2 separate regions of the Homo sapiens genome follow, and region 1 is linked to region 2. The links are contacts of gene promoters, found by promoter capture Hi-C in blood cells and fetal thymus (Javierre and others, 2016). All regions are on one chromosome and are shown on one strand. Each heading gives the region's core, a stretch centred on a gene start or on the middle of the fragment in contact. The rest is flanking DNA. Distances are from core to core; before and after follow the strand shown. Region 1 holds the start of RNF166 (ring finger protein 166). Region 2 overlaps ZNF778 (zinc finger protein 778).

Evidence for each region. Contacts are between HindIII fragments. The CHiCAGO score rates a contact against its expected background, and 5 or more counts as called.
Region 1: the fragment with the promoter of RNF166 here is called in contact with a fragment that was not itself captured in region 2 in 1 of 17 cell types (naive CD4 T cells); the score reaches 6.0 in naive CD4 T cells.

Annotation. Positions count from the first base shown.
Region 1 is chr16:88,704,857-88,709,006 of GRCh38, reverse strand. RNF166 (ring finger protein 166) reads left to right here and starts at 2,599. Exons shown (of 6, transcript NM_178841.4): 1 at 2,599-2,836. The coding sequence starts at 2,682. It overlaps CTU2 (cytosolic thiouridylase subunit 2), which reads right to left and starts at 2,504. Exons shown (of 15, transcript NM_001012759.3): 1 at 2,409-2,504; 2 at 1,797-1,871. The coding sequence starts at 2,476. RefSeq lists silencers at 2,236-2,545, 2,586-2,865 and an enhancer at 2,487-3,124. The HindIII fragment of the contact is 28,082 bases long and covers 1-4,150 here.
Region 2 is chr16:89,221,214-89,225,649 of GRCh38, reverse strand. ZNF778 (zinc finger protein 778) reads right to left here. Exons shown (of 7, transcript NM_001201407.2): 3 at 3,467-3,558; 4 at 2,367-2,493; 5 at 848-931; 6 at 19-95. Among named protein-coding and RNA genes, the nearest start is that of ZNF778, 5.7 kb to the right of the region's middle. The HindIII fragment of the contact is 7,033 bases long and covers 1-4,436 here.

The DNA of each region.
Region 1 (4,150 bases), core at 1,350-3,849, 520 kb after region 2:
CACTGCGCCCAGCTGTAATCTTTGTTCATAATAAACTTTCCAGCCATCTGACTCTGGCTCACTACGTCAGGGGTTCTTGGCCCTGGCTGTATGTTAGAATTGCACAAACCAATTAAGTCAAATTGTCTAGGGGTGAGGCCTAGGAGTCTGCATTTTAAAGCTCTCCTGCAATCCTGGCAGGCAGGGTGAAGAGCAGCACCCGGTACAGAGCGGACAATGCCACTGCAAGAGTCACCCTGCACCTGGGGCTCTAAGTCTCTTCCTTCCTGTCAGACACACTTGATGTGCACAGCAGTCCCTCCCTACGTTGAATGGATACCACGTACAAGAGGCCGAATGACCCCCCTGTGGTTCCTTTACAGACAGTAAAGCAAGTCTGTGTTTAACAGCAAGATGCCAGGTGAGGGACTGCAGGTAACTGGCAAGTATCAAGGCTGGGACATGGGAAGTGACCCCCAGGACCCAGCTTTGGGCGTGGGGAGTCTCATACAAGGAGACACAGGTGCTGGGCTTCACCTCCGCACTGTGGACCAGGAGAGCCTCTGCGCCCTACACCACCAGCTGGGATTCAAGCGTGGTGGGTCCACGTGTACATGCTGCGTCTGGGCTCCTGAAACCACGCTGTCCCCTGTGGGTCAGGGAAGGCCAAGGTTTCTCCCACGTGCTGACCTGAATGATCCCTGGGGATCCCAGCTCGATGTAGATTCCTAAGGCCTTCCCCTAGAGAGCCGGCTCCCCACTGTTCCTTGGGACCAGCAAGCACAGCAAAAGCCCTTCTGGCCACAAGGGCCTAGCATACAGCCACAGCAGCCTCTCCTCAGTGAATTCTGCCGGCAGCCTGGTGTTCTTGGCAATTTCAGATGCTCCTGGGTGGTTAAAGAAGTACCTATCTTGGCCAGGTGTGGTGGCTCATGCCTGTAATCCCAGCACTTTGGGAGGCCGAGGCAGGTGGATCACTTGAGGTCAGGAGTTCGAAACCAGCCTGGCCAACATGGTGAAACCCTGTCTCTACTAAAAATACAAAAACAATTGGCCGGGCATGATGGCAGGCACCTGTAATCCCAGCTACTCAGGAGGCTGAGGCAGGAGAATCACTTGAACCCAGGAGGTAAAGGTTGCAGTGAGCTGGGATCATGCACTCCAGCTGTTGCACTCCAGCCTGGGTGACAGAGGGAGACTCCATCTCAAAAAAAACAACAACAACAACAAAAAAACCACGCACCACCACTGGGAATTAAGAGGGCTAAAAGGAGAGAGACCTGGTCCTCCCTTCAGGGAGCTATGAGTCTAGTGGAAACAACTGAACAATACAATGGCTACAAGCCAAGAAAGACATGACAAGCGCCTGGGGGAAAGCTAGAGGTCTTCCAAGCCTCTATCCTGCCACAGATGAAACAAGCATCTCACACGAGATTAAAAACTTTCACCCAGACCATCTGCCAAGTTCCCAAGATGCTCTGATCCGCCCCTAGATGTATTCCAGCTGCCCCCAAACGCCTGGTCCTCCTACAGCTTATCCCAGTCTAGACACCACGGCCCCACTTCCAACTGTCCCCATAAGTTCCATCAGAAACCTCATCAGGGGATCTGTGGCTAGCTCATGGGAAACTTTCCCAAGCAGGAAACCAATGCTTTCGCCTCCACTTCAACACCAGGGGCACGAGGGACCCCATCAGGAGCAGGAATAAAGTAAGTACATGTTTTTAAAAAGAATTAACAAAGCATCACAAGTTGCGGCTATCCTGTCTGCTAGCGAGGCCATGTTTGCCAGGGTCTCAGCCACCTCCAGGCCTCACCTGCAGAAGGCATCTCCGGCTCGTATCACCACAACGGGCTGCGCTTCCTTGCACTTCACACACTTCTGCTCACGGCTTTGGAGATGGGAGGGGGGAGAAGAGAGAAACACAGATCACATCTTCCCCACGCCTAGTGGGCTTTGGGGAGACAGCTCCTGTTTCTCACCCTGAGTTGGGTCAGAGAAAGGCACCTCGGTACACACACAAACCCAGGCTTGTGTTCTGTCCAAACTTCAAGAAAAACAAAGGCTCTGGGGGGATGTTTAGCCTAGAAAAGCCGGCTCAGGGGGCACATAAAGGCCGCTTTTCAGTCTCCCAAGGCTGACACGGGGAGGCGAGACAGCTTCACGGCACCAGTTCTCTCCGAATAAGGACAGCACTGTCAGCGGCAGAGCCGTCCCCAGTGGCTGCTAGGATGAGAGGCGCGAGCCAGTGGAGTAAGTCCCCTTCTAGGTGGCCGTCACCGCTTGACAGGCATTCCCCGAGTGCTAGGGAGCGAGGTCCCGCTCTCCACGCGGGGCTTCCCGGAGCAAGCCCGGCCGGGACCCTTCGGGGCAGGAGTGCGGCGGGAAGGCGAGGGGCGGCCTGGCGGGTCCGGCCGCCAGCTCTTACCTGGGCCGCGGCGCCGGGGGCGGCTCCTCAGGCGCCGGCTCCCCGTAGTCCTCGCCCACCTGACACATGGGCACGCCGGGTCCCGTCGCAGACTGTGGCGGCGACAGCGCGAGGGCGCGCCCCGATGACGTCGGAGTGGCGCCGTGACGGCCGCGAAGCCCGGCTGGGGGCGGCGCCCTACGATGACGTCAGCGCGGCGCAGTAGCGGCTGTGACTAGCGGGCCGGCCCGGGCCAGGACAGCGGGCGGCGGGCGGCGCGGGCCTGGCCCCGGGATGGCTATGTTCCGCAGCCTGGTGGCCTCGGCTCAGCAGCGGCAGCCGCCGGCCGGGCCGGCGGGCGGCGACAGCGGCCTGGAGGCGCAGTACACCTGCCCCATCTGCCTGGAGGTCTATCACCGGCCCGTGGCCATCGGCAGCTGCGGCCACACGTGAGCGCGCCCGCCCAGGGGCCGCGGGGAGGGGGCCGTGCCCCGCCGCGGGAGGGGTCGCGAGGCCGGCGGCCGCCCCGGTGCAGCTCCGGACTGGGCGCGCGGGGACTCGGGGCGCCGGGGCCTCGGGGCGCGTGGGGTCCGGGTTTCCCTGTGCCGCGCCGCCTCTGCCCTCTGGGCGCGTTCATCCCCCGCCCAGCCTCCTTCGCGCCAGCCGCAGGCGCCCGGTCCGACTGCTGCTTCGGTTCACCGGGCGACCTGCGGCCCTGCCCAAGCTCGGGGTCCCCGGCGGCTGCGGCGGGCGCTCCGGTACTCAGAGGGCAGCAGGTGCCACCGCTCCGCCAGTGGTGGTGGATTTGGGCTTGTGCGGCTGGAATGGGCAGTTGTAAATAAATAACTTGTAGTTTTTGCTATCAACTCTTGTTCGGACCCGCTGTCTGCCTGTTTTGACTACAGAGGAAAGGAGTTCCCTAAAGTTTAGAGGGGCTTGTTTGGAGTCTGATGTTCTTAGTTTTGTTTGAAGGAGAACTTGAGTCACACCGATCACTGAGTAGCCAGGCAGGCTGGTCCACAGAGGAGCAGACACTGACCACCTTGCTGGGGTTTCCAGCTGCACCAGGGCTCACAGCCGGCTCCTCCAGGGTGTTTCAGGAACAGAAACTGGAGGACGTGGCTCTCCTGGCGGGGAGCTGTGCTCAAGTATTCTGGAGCTGCCAGCCCCGTTGGGAGGAAGCCTAGATCAGTGTCTGCTCCCTCCTAAGTGCTGAATAATACAGCTCTTGAGCAAAATCAGCAGTGGCAGGGGAGAGAGAGAGCAGGAGGGCTTCCCCGCAGACATCCAAGCTGCTGAGGTGGTGGAGTGGAGGGGGGTGCACCCAGACTGGTAGGAGGCTCTAGAACATTTTGCAAGCAAAGTCAGCTGACTTCAGGGGCTCCTGGTACAGAGGGAGCTGGGACTGCTAGGTGGATGTGTGCTGGTCACCCACGGAGGTGGCAGGGCCAGTGTCAGGATGCAGAGCTGCCTTCATTACCTGTGTCAGGCAGCACAGGCGCCTGCCCACGCTGGGACAGCTCTACCTACTTCTCTTGTGAGGCTGCTACAGGCTCTGCCCCTGCTCCTCCATCTCACTTAGCCGTGACATTTTGGGGGGGCAGCCTCTGAACGGGAATATTTTTTTTTGAGACAGAGTCTTGCTCTTGTCACCCAGCCTGGAGTGCAGTGGCGCCATCTCGGCTCACCGCAACCTCCATCTCCTGGGTTCAAGTGATCCTCCTGCCTCAGCCTCCAGAGTAGCTGGGATTACAGGCACCCGC
Region 2 (4,436 bases), core at 1,174-3,673:
CTCTCTTGTTAATCTTACCGTCTGTGTCTCATTTGATGCTCTGAACCAAGATCTATCCTGCCGAAGTGCTGGCCCTTTGGTTTTAAGTCGCCATTCTGAAAAGAAAGAAGAATGACCTAAAAACGATCAAACTCATTGGTATTTGTTTTCATATAAGACATGGCAGAAAAAAAAACAAAGCAAAGATAGATTTAAGGAGTTTGGCTATGTGTAAAATTTGGAATCATAGGAACTGGGAGTCATAATTTAGAAGATTTTAAAATACATTTGGTCCATAAAGAAGAAATGTGAGGTGAACAGAAACAATATTATCAATGAAAGAAAGCAGGAAAGAGCTGGACAAAGGGCATACATTCAAAACACAAACTTGGCCAGGCGTGGCAGCACGCACCTGTAATCCCAGCTACTCAGGAGGCTGAGGCAGAAGAACTGAGTGAACCCAGGAGGCAGAGTTTGCAGTGAGCCAAGATTGTGCCACTGCACTCCAGCCTGGGCAACAGAGCAAGACTCCGTCTCAAAAAAAAAAAAAAAAAAAAAACCCACAAACTGAAAGAACAAAACAGCAGGTTTTTTATGAGATCACAAGAAAGGGAAAATCCAGATCAGATGGAAAATAAGGAATTACGGGAAGCTCAGGATACCCAGAGCCAACAGCCTCATGTTCTGTGCCAGAATGCATCTTAAAACGTGCACTCAGGATTCTTCCACAGCCGCTAAACTCGACACTCAGGATCCTCCCACAGCCGCTTAACTTGACACAATCCTTCCATAGCCGCTAAACTTGACACTCAGGATCCTCCCACAGCTGCTAAACTTGACATCGACCAGGCGTGCTCTTCACACTTACCTTGGAGAACTGCTCTCCGCCCTGCCCTCAACTCCTCTTCCTGCTCCAGCCAATAGATCACACTGGGTTGGAACAGGTGATGTCCTGTACACAGGGAAAGAGACATCGATGGAAGAGGCTCAGGCAGGGGATGACAAACCTACCCGTGAACAGGAACTACATTTCCTTTTTTTTATTATTTTTTGAGACAGCGTCTCGCGCTGTTGCCCAGGCTGGAGTGCAGTGGTGCAATCTCGGCTCACTGCAACGTCTGCCTCCTGGGTTCAAGTGATTCTCTTGCCTCAGCCTCCTAAGTAGCTGGGACTATAGGTGCCCGCCACCACGCCTGGCTAGTTTTTTGTATTTTTAGTAGAGATGGGGTTTCACCGTGTTGGTCAGAATGGTCTCAATCTCCTGACCTTGTGATCCGCCCACCCCGGCCTCTCAAAAGTGCTAGGATTACAGGCATGAGCCACTGCGTCTGGCGTCCCAGAGTGCTCGGATTACAGGCGTGAGCCACTGCGCCCAGCCTCCCAAAGTGCTGGGATTACAGGCATGAGCCACTGCGTCCAGCATCCCAGAGTGCTGGGATTACAGGCGTGGCCACCACACCCTGCCTCCCAGAGTGCTGGGATTACAGCCCTGAGCCACTGCGCCTGGCCTCCTAGAGTGCTGGGATTACAGCCCTGAGCCACTGCACCCAGCCTCCCAGAGTGCTCGGATTACAGCCCTGAGCCACTGCACCCAGCCTCCCAGAGTGCTCGGATTACAGCCCTAAGCCACTGCGCCTGGCCTCCCAGAGTGCTGGGATTACAGCCCTGAGCCACCGCGCCCGGCCTCCCAGAGTGCTGGGATTACAGCCCTGAGCCACTGCACCCAGCCTCCCAGAGTGCTCGGATTACAGGCATGAGCCACCGCGCCCGGCCAGGAACTACGTTTGTTTTTTTTTTGAGATGGAGTCTCGCTCTGTCACCCAGGCTGGAGTGCAGTGGCATGCCAGGAACTACATTTCTAAAGAATGCAGTGAAATTGTTTCAAAAGGGCTCAAAGTGCAAATACTCCATCCTTCTGCGCCCCAAAGAAACTGGTTATCTCTGATTCCTGAAGCCCACATTCAGGCTTAAATATACACGTAAAAACCACAAAGACTCTTACTCAAATAGGAAATAACAGAAGTGCAATAAGAGATCTTCATTCACTTGGGAAACTACTACCCAGTGGTTCTCAGTGTTAGAGTGAATTGGCATCGTCGGGAGGGCTTGTTACAGGAGAGATGACAGGCCCACCCCCAGGAGACATTCTGATCCAATGTGTCCCAGCTGAAGCCTCAGAATGCATGTTTCTAGAGGAGTGACGGTGATGCTCATGACCCCAGGACCACATTCTGGAAACGACCACACTAGCACCAAGCCTACTAGCACAGTTGTTATATCTCTTACTTCCCGTGGTACTCGGCTTTGCCGTCACCAACCCTGGAACACAGTAAGGACACATCAAGTATTGGTTCCACAGAAGTTGCAAAGGACGGTGGCAGCCTCACCTACTGAGGCCAGGTTCTCGTAGTTTTCCAGCATCACATCTCTGTAGAGGTCTCTCTGAGATGGGTCCAGTAAAGTCCATTCCTCCTGGGTGAAGTCCACAGCCACGTCGTCAAAGGTCACCGCGTCCTAAATCATCACACATGACGGTTGGAGCCTTCCAACGTGTCCATCGGTATTCACTGAAGAATGAGGAGGCGGGGCCCTACGCCTATGGGACTGTGAGGCCTCCTACTGTCTACCCCATGGCCCAGTGGTCCCAGGAACCCTTCTCTGCCCGCACACACGCCCTGTCGCTCTCCTCCAGTCACGCGCACCCTGTCGCTCTCCTCCAGTCACGCGTGCCCTGTCGCGCTCCTCCAGTCACGCGCACCCTGTCGCTCTCCTCCAGTCACACGGCCGCAACGACACCTCTAACATGTGAGCTTCTCTCACCACGCTCACTGGGCACTCCCCTCGCCTTATGTCCCTCTCCTGAGCACACTACAAACAAGTGGTAACTCGTGATGTGGAAATAAGTTCCCAGAGAGGATACCTTCCCCTTCCTTACCATGTGTCAGAGCACTAAGCAAAGTACGAAACACGCATTTGGCACAAGGGTGAAAATAATGAGTAATGTTGTGGCTGGGCGCAGTGGTGCAAGCCTGTAATCCCAGCCCTTTGGGAGGCCAAAGCGGGTGGATCACTTGAGATCAGCAGTTCAAGACCAGCCTGGCCAACATGGCAAAACCCCGTCTCTACTAAAAATACAAAAATTAGCCAGGCATGCTGGTGGGCACTTGTAATCCCAGCTACTTGGGAGGCTGAGGCAGGAGAATTGCTTGAACCTGGGAGGCGGAGATTGCAGTGAGCCGAGATTGGGCCATTGCTCTCCAGCCTGGGCGACAAAGCGAGACTCCGTCTCAAAAAAAAAAAGTAACACTGAAATACGGGGAGGATTTTCACAGTAACACCTGACCAGCCAGGCTCTTCTCCCTGGAGGCGTTCAACTAGGGACTCGGTCCTTGAGTGAGGCTGTGCAGACAAGTCTGCTCAGACAGAAACTTGTCTATCTGCTGAATACCAGTATGTTATTTTAAGAAAAAATACAGTTTTGGCATACCTGGTAACAATTTATCAGCCAGCCAGCCACCATCCCTGCTGCCTGTGTCTGTTCTTCATGAAGGCAGACTGAGTCCCTAGAAACATGACCTCCTAAAAAACAAAGAAGGCAAGAAGGCATGAGAACCCAGAGCTGACCCTAATTCCACACTCATGGACCCGGAAGTCATTCCATCCTAGCAGGAAATTATCACGTACTCCTGCACACTCAGGAAAACGCACACACACAGATATACAGTGTCAGGGAATTCCCACATACACCTGCACACTCAGGAAAACACACACACAAAGCCATACAGTACCTCAGGAAAACACACACACACACACAGCCATACACTTCCTCAAGAAAACACACACACACACAGCCATACACTGCCTGAGGAACACACACACACACACACAGTCATACAGAGCGAGGGAATTCCCATGTACTCTTGCACACTCAGGAAAAGACACACACAGCCATACAGTGCCTCAGGAAAACACACACATACAGCCATAAACTGCCTCAGGAAAATACACACACACACAGCCATACAATGCCTCAGGAAAATATAGTCCCTCAGGAAAATACACACACACACACACACACACACACACAGCCATACAGTGCCTCAGGAAAACACACACACAGAGCCATACAGTGCCTCAGGAAAACACACACAGACACACACACAGCCATACAGTGCCAGGGTAGTCTGTTTCGCCTGGTGACACAAAATGTTTGTGAGCTATGCCGCCCATCAGGAAATGGTAACAGGCTCCTATTGCAGATATGGAACGGTACGCCTTGAGGAACGTGACTCTTCATTTGCCCGTGGTGAGAAAACTCATGAAGGAGTTTACACATCATCCCTCCCCAAAGCACACACCCTGGGGCTGACTTACAGGTCAGCATTCTCTGGCTCACTCCAGCAGCTGCAATAGGAACCCGGAGCGTGACTACTCAGGCCCCGTCCATGGGCCTGATA